Linked DNA regions of Homo sapiens: all the other regions are linked to region 3. The links are contacts of gene promoters, found by promoter capture Hi-C in blood cells and fetal thymus (Javierre and others, 2016). All regions are on one chromosome and are shown on one strand. The core of a region is centred on a gene start or on the middle of the fragment in contact, and the rest is flanking DNA. Distances in the headings are between cores, read along the strand shown.

Region 1 (3,013 bases), core at 11-2,510, 350 kb before region 3:
ACACATAATAGATTATAGCAAGAAAGATAAACTTCACTGTTAAAAATCTTAATTGGGAAAAAAGCTTACTATTGATCATTAAAACATTTTACAGAGAATCTTCAATAAAATAGCAGAGTGGTGAAATGTATTATGTTAGACTCATGGAAAAAAATTATATGTTCAAGCAGCTGCCAGCACATAGTTCACACTTTAGCAAGTGAGATATGCCTTCCTCATACTCAAGTTTTACCAATCTCTTGTTCTTTTTTTTTTTTTTTTTTTTTTTGAGACAGGATTTCACTCTTGTTGCCCAGGCTGTAGTACAATCTCGGCTCACCGCAACCTCTGCTTCCTGGATTCAAGCGATTCTCCTGCCTCAGCCACCCGAGTAGCTGGGATTAGAGGCATGCGCCACCATGCCCGGCTAATTTTGTATTTTTAGTAGAGATGAGGTTTCTCCACGTTGGTCAGGCTGGTCTCAAACTCCCAACCTCAGGTGATCCGCTGGCCTCGGCCTCCCAAAGTGCTGGGATTACAGGCTTGAACCACCATACCCAGCCCAATCTCTTGTTCTTTAAAATTGTTTTTCATCTCTGCATGGGCAACTGCCAGGACAAAAAGATAACATATTAATTAAACAACTCCAGCATGGCTCATAAGGAAGTTATTCTCTATCAACCAGAAAAGGATCTGGGTTGGAATTAAATGTTTGGAGTTTAGTCTTAATTTATTGATTCATGTTTTGGTCTCAAACAAATAACACTTCCAAGCACTATCCCCCTTCTAAAATGAGCCTGTACTAATATACTACTTCATTATTTTTACTAAAAGCCAATTCCCTGAAATCTACTCAGCATTTCAAAGTGCTGTGTAGATAAAACATAAGATATATTTTTAACATGTCTGTGAAGAAACTTGGTAAGGTATTTTACAGAGATATTTACATCTTGAATTTAAATATCACAAATCAACATAGTCACAGAAATATATGAGGAGCATTAAAAGCATGTTTTTTGCTCCTGACAGTGTGATGGGGGCTGGGCGTGCTCTGCTCCCACAAACACTCAGGGATCCAGGCTATTTTGTCTTCCCACCACCTTCTCAGGCCTCAGTCTTGTAGTGTATCCTCTGCATCCTTCAGCAAATGAGGAAAGAGAAAGGCAAAAATGATTTCAAGGGCAGTTTTGGGGGACAGGCCTGAAAGATACATAAATCACTTTCCAGCCACGTGCCAGTGACAAGACTGGTCACTGATGGCCACCTAAATTAAGGGAGCCAAAAAATACAGTCCACAGTGTACCAAGGAAGGAGAAGAACACAAAGATATTGATAGTCACCACCAACCTCGATCACAGGTGTAGAGCTGTGCGCTTACATAAATCCATAGCATGTACTCTACTTGAACAGATGTATGAAGTCAATATGAGTTATTTCTAGAAGGCTAAGAGACAAATATTTGGTTCTTGTGTGAATTTCCTCGTTTTCTTTGTTTTTTAAATGTTTCCTTTTGTATTACTAAGTGAATGGGAAAAAGAAAAGTAACAAATGCTTGTAGTTACCAGAATGTAATTTTCAAGTTAATGTACAGAAAGTTTTCCGTCAGGGAATGCCTTTTATTTAGGTGTTAGTCACTCATTGTTTATTATTGTGTTTATACAAAAACTGATTTGTACATTAAACTTAGTGTAGATGAATTTGTACCATGCTAACTTGGTAGAAAAGTTATATTTGTTATCTTAAGTTTGTATTCATTGGCATTTCATTGTTGCTTGAAATATATCCCACACTTGAATATGAAGTATGACATATTTCCTGCAATCTAGCCAAAAATTAAATATGTATTGAAGTTGAAAATTTAAAATCTGTTGATTCACTCTTCCTGACTTGTATTTTTTTTAGCTGATAAGACTTTCCTTCTAATGCTTCCTCTTCTAATATTCTTTTCTAATATTTCCTCTTCTAATGTGTCTTACATCAGCTTCTCTGGTTGATGTAGCTGTTTATATTGCTTTTCAGAGTTTAATAGGGGTCCAAATTTCAGGAGTTCTGACTCTGAACACTAATATTGCTTCACACAGCATTTATGGTTTAAATAACATACCTTAGAACAAGCACTGATGTGCTGATTTGAATGTGTGACTGAAAATATCACACATCTCAAGTAGATTGCTAGAACCAAATTTCTCAACAAATTTACTTGATGTGCTGAGAAATAGTCATACAGATCTTTAAACTTCTAATTTGTAATAGTAATTAATATTCATTAACTCTAAATTATTTATTTCTGTTGCCATCGACATCTTAAAAATATTAACCTCTGATATATCAAAAATTGATTCTAAAAAATGAGAATTCTATGCAGACCAGTCCACTTAGCTGCCAGATCAAATGTTATAGAATTTGATTAACATTAATTGAACCACCTATAAGATACAGAACTGAGTAACACACAGTTCCTCTACATGAGAAGCTTATATCTTCAGAAAAACAAATAACCCTATTAAAAAGTAGGCAAAAGACATACACAGACATTTCTCTAAAGAAGACATAAAAGCAGCCAACAAACATATAAAAAAATTCATTATCATTCATTATCAGAGAAATGCAAATCAAAACCACAATGAGGATACCATCTCACATCAGTCAGAATGGCCATTATGAAAAAGTGAAAAACCAACAGATGTTGGCAAGGCTGTAGAGAAAAGGGAATGCTTATTCACTGTTGGTGGGAATATAAATTAGTTCAGCCAATGTGGAAAGCAGTTTGGAGATTTCTTGAAGAACTTAAAACAGAACTACCATTCAACCCAGTAATCCCATTACTGGGTATATACCCAAAGGAAAAGAAATCATTCTACCAAAAAGACACATGCACTTGTATGTTCATCGCAGCACTATTATCAATAGCAAAGACATGTACTCAAGCTTGGTGCCCAGTAACAGTGGATTGGATAAAGAAAATGTGGTACATATATACCATGGAATACTATGCAGCTATATAAAAGAATGAAATCATATCCTCTCCAGCAAC
Region 2 (3,005 bases), core at 321-2,820, 400 kb before region 3:
AGTTTAATGTTGTGATATAATATGACAGATTTATACATTGTTCTGACATAGCGAAATGCAAAGAGATGAAGTGTTTTATTTACACAGTAACCTCTTATTTCCACAGATCATTGGCTTTCCTGGGCTCATCTAAAAGGCCTGTGAGTACTGCTGTGAGTCTTGCAGAGCAGCCTGACCAGTTTAGGAAGACAAAAGTACAAGGCCAGGAAGTCAGGAAAGAAGGCAACATAAAAAAGAAACGAAACCAGACATGATCACCCGGGGAACTTCCACTCTCCAAAAGCACCCATAGTGTTCTCTGCTCCCAAGGTGCTCTCTCCTCTATCTGGACACAGAAGCATCTATGTTAATGTTTGTTAAATGAATTTCTTCCCTGGTTCATCGTTCATCCAACAGACATCGTTGATCACTCCTTCAGGAAACATTGTATTCCCTCGAGGAGGTATAAGGAAGTGCACAGGAAGACCAAAAGGATACAGTTCTGTATTCAAGGAGAAAGCAGCCTCATGAGGAAACCAGACAAGAAATTTGATGTGGTAATTCCTACAGTAGAGGACATGCCAGGATTTGTGAGGGACACAGAGGAGGCATTAACCAAACTGATGCTGAGAAAGTTGCAGAAAAATTCAGAGCATCATTTCAAATGAAAACCATTTCAGCTGTTTCATGAACCTGACATTGAATCTGTCAAAGGAGTTTTGGTTCAACTCCCCAGGTAGAGAAGATGGGAAAGATTGGGTGCTCTCTCTTCTAACAGGGACTCTGGCTATAGTATTAGAGGGTACAGGAGTTCTTGGCTATGACTCTCCAGGAAGCCTGAAAAGTTTTGTGAGTGTGATGAGGAAATAGTGGCTCACTCTCTGTTTTAGAGCACAACCAGGACTGGGCATGAAAGGTAACAGGAGGCACCCTAGGTGCCTATGCTTATTTAATAGGGCGAGGCACATCCCCTGTAATGGGTTTTGTGGCGTATTGGAATAGGAGCAAGTGGATGCAAATAATAATTTTAAAAAGCTTTCATCATCAACATGGGAAAAAAGAGAAGGAAATGGTTTTCTCCAAGGTTTGCTTGGAAGAAAAAGCAGACCTCATTCTAAAGTGAAGTCTTGCTACTCCAAGTGTGGCTGAAGAGCCAGTGGCACCAGCATCACCTGGAAGCTTCTTTAGAAATGCAGACTCGGCCAGGCGTGGTGGCTCACACCTGTAATCCCAGCACTTCGCAAGGCCGAGACAAGCAGATTGCCTGAGGTCACGAGTTCAAGACCAGCCTGACCGACATGGGGAAACCTCGTCTCTACTAAAAATACAAAAATTAGCTGGGCGTGGTGGTAGGCACCTGTAATCCGAGCTACTCAGGAGGCTGAGGCAGGAGAATCGCTTGAACCTGGGAGGCGGAGGTTGCAGTGAGCCGAGATGGGGACTTGGCACTCCATCCAGCCTGGGCAACAAGAGCGAAACTCTGTCTCAAAAAAGAAAAATAAAAACTCTTAGGCCCCTGTTCCAACCTACGTCAGAGCTGCAGTTTAATGAGATCCCCAGGTGACTTCTATGCATGTGGAGCTCTGAGAAGCCCTGCTCCAGACCAGCATGGTGGTTGAATATTGGAATCACCTAAGGAGCTTTTTAAACCACTGATCCCACCACCACGGTTTCTATTTTCAAGGTCTGGCTCCCTAAATGATTCCAAATGTACAGCCAAGGTGGCAAAGCACTCGAAGGCCTCCTATTCCCCACGAGAACCTCTGAAACAGCAGCAGGTCTGGGTGCTGCTGATGCAGAATGAGTACCAAGATCTCCCTGAAGCCCAATAAAGCCACTGACCACTCCTGTAAGTCAGGAGCAGTGAACTGAAGCCAGCTGTTCGGATCTGGGTGCTATAGGTACCCCCGTGCACGTTCTCATCATGATTGTTCATTGTGCATTTCATTAGGTGGAATCCGTTTAGGAATCTGTCATGGGAGATCAAAAAAACATTAAGCTTGGAATAATCCATGTCTGCTTGTTTAGCCCATCAGACAAATCATTTGCAATTAGGTAGGATCCTCATGCTGAAGAAGATAGAGAAAGAAAGCTTGCACAGAAAAGTTAGAGGCCTCAAGTTGGGAAAGCAAACAAACCAAAAGCAGAGAGGAGTCACCCAAAGGAAGCAGCACCCAGTGAACCCCTGCCGTGAGTCAGCACGAGGGAGGCCCAGCCCTTTCTAGGGGAGCCTGATTAAAGATCAGGCTCAGCTGCTGCTGCTGCTGCTGCTGCTTGTCCCAAGACCAAGTCGTAATAGCAACTTCCCTTCCTCAGCTGCCTGAACTTTTTTTTTCCCTTGTAGCTGGAGAGAAGTGTCACATTTTGCTCACTCTCAACCTTCCTCGCCCACCCCCTTCCCGGAGAACCTGTGCGGTGTGTAGAGGGTGCTGTGAGCCACCTCCAGCCTCGGGTGGCTGCTTAAGTAACTTTCAACTCCTCTCTTCTTAACACTATGAAGTGTCTCGGGAAGCGCAGGGGCCAGGCAGCTGCTTTCCTGCCTCTTTGCTGGCTCTTTTTGAAGATTCTGCAACCGGGGCACAGCCACCTTTATAACAACCGCTATGCTGGGTAAGTGGAGCGACATTCATGCCCTACACAGCTTTGATTTGGATCTGGGGGCTGGTTTGCTCCAGAGTGTGCCTCACTTTTTCTGATTTGGGGGTCTCTGAGTGAATCTGCACACTTTCACGGTCCTCTATATAAAATGTACTCACAGCTCTCTGCTCTTGGCTTTAGCTCACTGAGAGAATGTGGTGGGCTCCAACCTGGCTTTTTATACTTTTTATCATGTGCCAACCTTAGCTGTGGACCCAGGGTTGAATGGGATTCTGTCTTTGGAGTAGCCATGGTCAGTATTTACAGTGTTTGCCTTGGTTGATGCTTGGGGATGCTGTTGTCCTACATGATTTATGACCTGAAAACTAAGCCTTTCTTTACAATTGTATGTAGGAGCGGTGGGTTGAAATTCATCAGTGATTAAGAAC
Region 3 (2,757 bases), core at 74-2,573:
ATAAAAGAAATGGAACTTGTTCTAAAAAAGTTTATTAACGTATACACAGAAATCAGTATTATATCTGATCTAAGAGTATAATGAATCCTTCATTTCCAGGAATCTAGAGATAGTCTCTAAAATAAAATTAATGAATTTATAGATTTGTTTCTCAGGACAATAAAGTTTAAAAAAATTAATCTATTTTTCCACTTTAATTTGTCACCTTCAAGTTTTCCATTTTATTTCCTCTGGGTTTTAGCCTTCCTAAATCTGGTCACTTCACTAAGTTCACAGAGTCACTTAAGTTTCTCCTTCCTTAGGTTTGGATGGTTACGTTAGGACAAGCCTATAGTTAAGGCAATCTAATAGAACAGAACAGTGACAGATGCATAGTAAACATTAGGGAACCTGTGTGCGTGGAGCCACAGAAGCTTAGAACTTGGAGACGTGACCCTAGATCACCATATATAATGTTTGCAAATATTTTTATGGTATTCTTTTTCTGCTCAGAAGGAAACTGTAGAAATTAAATACTGCAGAAATTTGAGTTCTACACTCAGACTAAAGCAAACACATGGTCACGTGTGTTAATCTGTTTGTACTTAAAGCTTTTCCATTCTAAACTGGTTTACATGTCCTGGACTAAATCTTAGTATTAAAGGCACAGAAACACAGAACTCTAAGGGACCTCATTCACAACCATTCACCTTAACTGAGTCAATTCAGAAGGGACCTGAAATCTAGAGTTGACCGATTTATCCGACAGAGAGAGAAAAAAGTGAAACATTTTTGAACCCTTATCAATAGGTTTTGGCTTACTTTTCCCAAAACAGAATCCTCCCTGAGGTAGTCGGAGAGCAGAGTCCTGGACAGCAGTTCCGTGCACTAGGGAAGGAAATTTTAGAGTCGAGTGATGCAGGCGGAGACCCTGCGGCTGAGAACGGGCGATGCGGGTGTTGCTGTGACCCCTGGAATGCAAAGGACTGCACCCCCATCAGAAAGTTAGAAAGCCAGTGCAGAGTAGCCAGGAGTCCTGTTCACTCGGCAGGAGCAGGGGTGCCGAGTGGGGGGATCTCTGGTCCCGCAGCTCGGCCGCCACCAAGAGCCCGAAGTGCTGGGCGCGGTGCCACCAGAGGCCCGCCACGCCCCACGCCGCCCTGCAGGCGAACGCTGGAGGCCCCGCCGGGCCGCCGTAGCGCTGCGGCTCGGGCCGCTCCTCCCGCGCCGCCCTCCGCCCCCAGCCTCCCGGCGCCGCGGCAGCTCTGGGCAGGGAGCGCCGCCGCCGCCGCCGCCGCCGCCGCTTCCTCGTCTGCAGCCGTTCGGCCGCTGCGTGACGCGTCGTTTCCTCCCAACATGGCGGCCGGGGCAGGTCGGCGGTGATGGGGGCCAGTTCGCGGCCGCGGCGGGTGCTAATCCCCACAGTAGCCAGGGTAGCCCTTCTCTCGCGGTGCCTCTGAGAGCCGCCGCCACCTCGTCCCTCAGTTCCCGGCAGACAGCCGCCCGGGCCGGGCTCCCTCACCGCCACCAGGGCCGGAGGGACGAGTGAGAGGGGCGGCCGGGACGCGACCCCCGGGCCGGGAGAAGCGGAGGCCCGACGGGCGCGGCCCTCGAGGTACGGCTTCTTGGGGGCGGCGAGGACCTCGACGCCCTTCGCCGACACCGCGGCTGGTCCCGCTCGCCCGCCCCTTCCTGATCCTGCCGCTGCCCTCCACGCCTCCAATCCCCCACCTCCACCCCCTCTCCTTTCTCTCTTCTCTTCCTTCCTCTCCTCCTCCTCCCCTCCAGCCGCTGGGAGCCGCGGGTCGGACGAGCCGCCGCCTCCTTCTCTGCGTCCATGTATGAGGGGAAGAAGACGAAGAACATGTTCCTGACCCGGGCTCTGGAGAAGATATTGGCCGACAAGGAAGTGAAGAAGGCGCATCACTCCCAGCTGCGCAAAGCTTGCGAGGTGGCGTTAGGTGAGCGGGGAGGAGGCCCGGGGGATGGGGTGCTTGTTGTGGGGCGGGGAGGGGGGCGCCTGTGGGGGGGTGGGGTCGCCCGGGGCTTGCCCGAGGCCCGCGCCTCTGACCTCGGGAAGCCCTCGCGGAGCCCTCTGTTCCCTGTCTGGAGTTGACAGGAACTCGGCTGGATGTGGGGCAGAGGCGGGGTAGAGGAGGAAGGGCAGTGAGCTGGGCTCGGGAAACGCGGCAGGGCTTAGGATCGCGGGGCACCTGGGTTCGAGGGATCGACTTGAGAGTGAGAGGATTTTGTTGGTGGTCCGTGAGGTGCGGACTGGATACCACCCTTTGTGATGAAGCAGAAGATGAGCTGTTGTTTATTAGCTTGGAAATTGAGGTGGGGCTGGTATGTCAAGATTGGGTGTGGGAAAGGTTCCGTATCATAATTAACAATAACTTTTTCGTTTGGCGAGGTACTTTGGGGAGATAGGCTGCTGAAGTTGTTTCCTTGTTGACAGTCTTGAGAAGGGGTTTGCAAGAGGTGCAGCCCGTTCTGACATCTCTCCGCCTCCGCCACAGGAAAAACATAGAGTAATATTGTATCTGACTGGGCTGACCTGGAAGAACAAGACCGGTGGTTAAGGGGTGAGGGTGGGGGTGGCGGCATGAAAGCAGGGAAGCAAAGAACCTTTAGATAAAATGGCTTTAGGTGACAAGGGAAGGGAGGGTTTGAAATGAGGAAAATGAAAAAGACAATGACACCCACCAGCCACATGTCTGGACAGTGGCAGCTGCTCTCAAGCTTGAATTGTGATTTATAGTTCAGATGGAAGAGATC
Region 4 (2,975 bases), core at 340-2,839, 260 kb before region 3:
AGTATCTCTAAAACTGACCCTTTCTCTGGGACTTCTAGCCATAAGCCTTGTGGATCCACTGACTATCACAGATCACTAGGTCCCCACATCCATGGGATCCATATTCACATATTCAAACAACCATGGATGGAAAACATGCAAAAAAAAAAAAAAAAAAGCAATACAATAATACAAAAATACAAATTTTTAAAATATAACAGCTATATAACATTTACATTGTATTAGGCATTATAAGTAATCTAGAGTTGTTTTAAGGTATACAGGAGAATGTGTGTAGGTTATATGCAAATACCAGGGCATTTTATATCAGGAACTTGAGCATCTGCAAATTTTGGTATCCATGGGGGCCCTAGAACCAATTAATCCCCATTCAATACCAAGGGATGAATGTAGTTTATATTTTAGAAAATCTAACACAGACTGAGAACTTAACAAGCATACTCATTCCACAAACAGATCTAAATGGAATACTCTATGTTGGGCATTGGATGAATCACACATGGTATTGTGAGGACACAACCATGAGTAGAAACTGGACTTCAGACAAGGAGCTCAGAGAGAGTTATTAGGTCATCCAGAGCAAAAAAAGAAAAAGAAAAAAAAAAAAACGTGGCTGGGCACAGTGGCTCATGGCTGTAATCCCAACAGTTTTGGAGGCCAAGGCATGTGGATCACCTGAGGTCAGGAGATCAAGAGCAGCCTGGCCAACATGGTGAAACCCCATCTCTACTAAAAATACAAAAAAAAATTAGGCATGGTGACAGGTGCCTGTAGTCCCAGCTACTTGGGAGGCTGAGGCGGGAAAATCGCTTGAACCCGGGAGGTGGAGGTTGCAGTGAGCTGAGACCGCACCATTGCACTCCAGCCCGGGTAAAAAGAATGAAACTCAATCTCAAAAAACAAACAAACAAAACGCAAAGTTGATAGAACCTCCACAGATTTTTCTCTAATCTCCACGTGTCCTATGTTTCCCAGTCTCTGAGCGTTGTATGTACAAATGTAGAAACAAATTCCACAAATGTTTATTAAGGGACTCTGTGCCAGGCACTGTTCTGGATGCTGAGGGATACAGCAGGAAACACAACCAACAATCCCTGTCCTCAAGAAACTTCATATTGTGGTGGAGAGAGATTAACAAAAAACAAATAAGTAAAAAATATGGTATATCAGATGGTCATGGTTGTAGGGAAACGTAAAGCAGGGAAAAAGGTAAGGGACGCAATGTAATTTTAAATGGAATGACCGGTCAGGGAAGAAGACATCATTAAAAATGTGGCATTTGAGCAAAGGTCTGAAGGAGGCGAGGGTGAGCTGTTATTGCCACATCTTTGGGAATAACCACCGCTTCCTTCTTTACCAGGCAGAAGGGCCAGTCTCGGACACTAGCTCATCAGAAAGCTTTTGCTAACTGCCACAACCAGATGTGTTCCTTCTATTTTTTCGAGTCCTTGAAGATCTTTGTTATTCTCTTACACAATCTGTTCTCAGATTCTGGTTTCCTTACTGAAACACATGTTCTCATTCACTCCAGTGTTTTGAGGAACAACAAACCAATCTGATTAGGATAACCCAAGGTTAATAAGTTGTAGCTCTATTTTACCTTAACCCCACACAACCTCCATCACCAGCTGACATATTTTGAAATTGACAATTGACATTTTCTCAACATCATTTCACCCTTTCCAATCAAATTACTGTTCACACACCCTTTCCACATACAAATTCTGCCTTTCATGCCTCATATACAGAGGAAACCTTTTTTGAAAAAGATGTAAGCTTTTTAATCAGAAGGACAAAAAGTGTTAATGACACCATAGAGACCTATGAAAGAGAGTGGAGGCAAAAGCAAAGCAAAACCAAACTATTGCAGAACTGCAGTTTTAGTTTGATCTGGGGTTAGCAAAGAGAAGTTTTAGAAATAACCTAGCACTGAGTGATTCAGTGTTTTGGCTCAAAAGGAAGGTAGATGGGAAAAATCTAATTTGCCTGGGTACTTTTTTCAGACTATCTTACGAAATATGGACTACCACAACCCCAGGTGATTGTAAAGGAAAACTTAGTAAACACTGATTATAGATCTGAGGGTTCCCAATACTATTCAAAGAATCCACAGTTAACTGTCTTCAACTTTTTTCAACAAAAATCTATGGACATGCTTTAGGGACTATGAGTTCCACTTAGCCATTTTAAACATATAGATCCTGTCTTCCTTTTAATGACATTCTTCATTCCACTTAGAAAATCATAACCCTGAAAGAAATATAATAAAGTACAGATCTCTTTATATAATAAATGTGTTTGTAATTTAATGAGAAGTTAAATACATTCCTAAATGTTTCACTTCAAAGAATTTTGTAAAAAAAAAAAATTGTTAAAATTAAAACAGTTTGGGACAAACCCTGCATCCTTCTCCACTTGGGAGGTAAAGAATACATGTATGTTACTGAAAGCTGAAAGTAACCTCCTGTACTTAATTTGGAAACATTTCAAGAATATAATTCTTGTACTATATAGAAGGATTATTCCTAAAAACAAAATGACCTTTGGAACCAAAAGCATTTTCTTAAAGTAATAGGCCAGATTGAACCTCAAAAATAGGAACTTATTTCTTTTCAGTATGGCCACACAAAAATCATTTTTGTCACACTTAGCTTCTTGCTTATAATGAGACCATTGGCTTTTGGGTTCGTTTTTTGTTTTTTGTTTTTCTTTTTAAGGAAGATAGAGAAAGCACAGAATTATAAAACTCTTCTTATGTAACACTTTTCTATCAAGGGGTTCCAAATTATTTATAAAATGTTAGCTCATTTAATTCTCACAGCTCCCAAGCAGGTTCAGAAATGACATGCGGTATTTATGATGGACTTTGTCTCAGTTTCTGCTGGGGAACATGAGTCACTGCTACTCTTGCAGCAGAAATGAAGCTATAATTTCCTGACATCCGGTCGAGGCGCTAACCTGACCTCATTCCAACT

The links. The method cuts DNA at HindIII sites, captures the fragments that hold promoters and counts their contacts. A CHiCAGO score of 5 or more calls a contact.
Region 1: a fragment that was not itself captured here is called in contact with the fragment with the promoter of ARFGEF1 in region 3 in 1 of 17 cell types (M1 macrophages); the score reaches 5.2 in M1 macrophages.
Region 2: a contact is called between a fragment that was not itself captured here and the fragment with the promoter of ARFGEF1 in region 3, in 1 of 17 cell types (fetal thymus). The highest score is 5.0, in fetal thymus.
Region 4: a contact is called between a fragment that was not itself captured here and the fragment with the promoter of ARFGEF1 in region 3, in 1 of 17 cell types (M1 macrophages). The highest score is 6.1, in M1 macrophages.

Annotation. Positions count from the first base shown.
Region 1 is chr8:67,689,584-67,692,596 of GRCh38, reverse strand. The region is part of intron 1 of CPA6 (carboxypeptidase A6); the gene reads left to right. Among named protein-coding and RNA genes, the nearest start is that of CPA6, 55 kb to the left of the region's middle. The HindIII fragment of the contact is 2,388 bases long and covers 67-2,454 here.
Region 2 is chr8:67,745,598-67,748,602 of GRCh38, reverse strand. CPA6 (carboxypeptidase A6) reads left to right here and starts at 2,243. Exons shown (of 11, transcript NM_020361.5): 1 at 2,243-2,589. The coding sequence starts at 2,474. RefSeq lists an enhancer at 1,917-2,417. The HindIII fragment of the contact is 820 bases long and covers 1,161-1,980 here.
Region 3 is chr8:67,342,347-67,345,103 of GRCh38, reverse strand. ARFGEF1 (ARF guanine nucleotide exchange factor 1) reads left to right here and starts at 1,323. Exons shown (of 39, transcript NM_006421.5): 1 at 1,323-1,940. The coding sequence starts at 1,817. It overlaps ARFGEF1-DT (ARFGEF1 divergent transcript), which reads right to left and starts at 1,270. Exons shown (of 5, transcript NR_136224.1): 1 at 802-1,270. RefSeq lists silencers at 1,033-1,292, 1,473-1,702 and an enhancer at 1,629-2,309. The HindIII fragment of the contact is 1,332 bases long and covers 593-1,924 here.
Region 4 is chr8:67,602,714-67,605,688 of GRCh38, reverse strand. All of the region lies in intron 2 of CPA6 (carboxypeptidase A6), which reads left to right. All of the region lies in intron 2 of LOC105375886 (a long non-coding RNA gene), which reads right to left. Among named protein-coding and RNA genes, the nearest start is that of CPA6, 140 kb to the left of the region's middle. The HindIII fragment of the contact is 378 bases long and covers 1,401-1,778 here.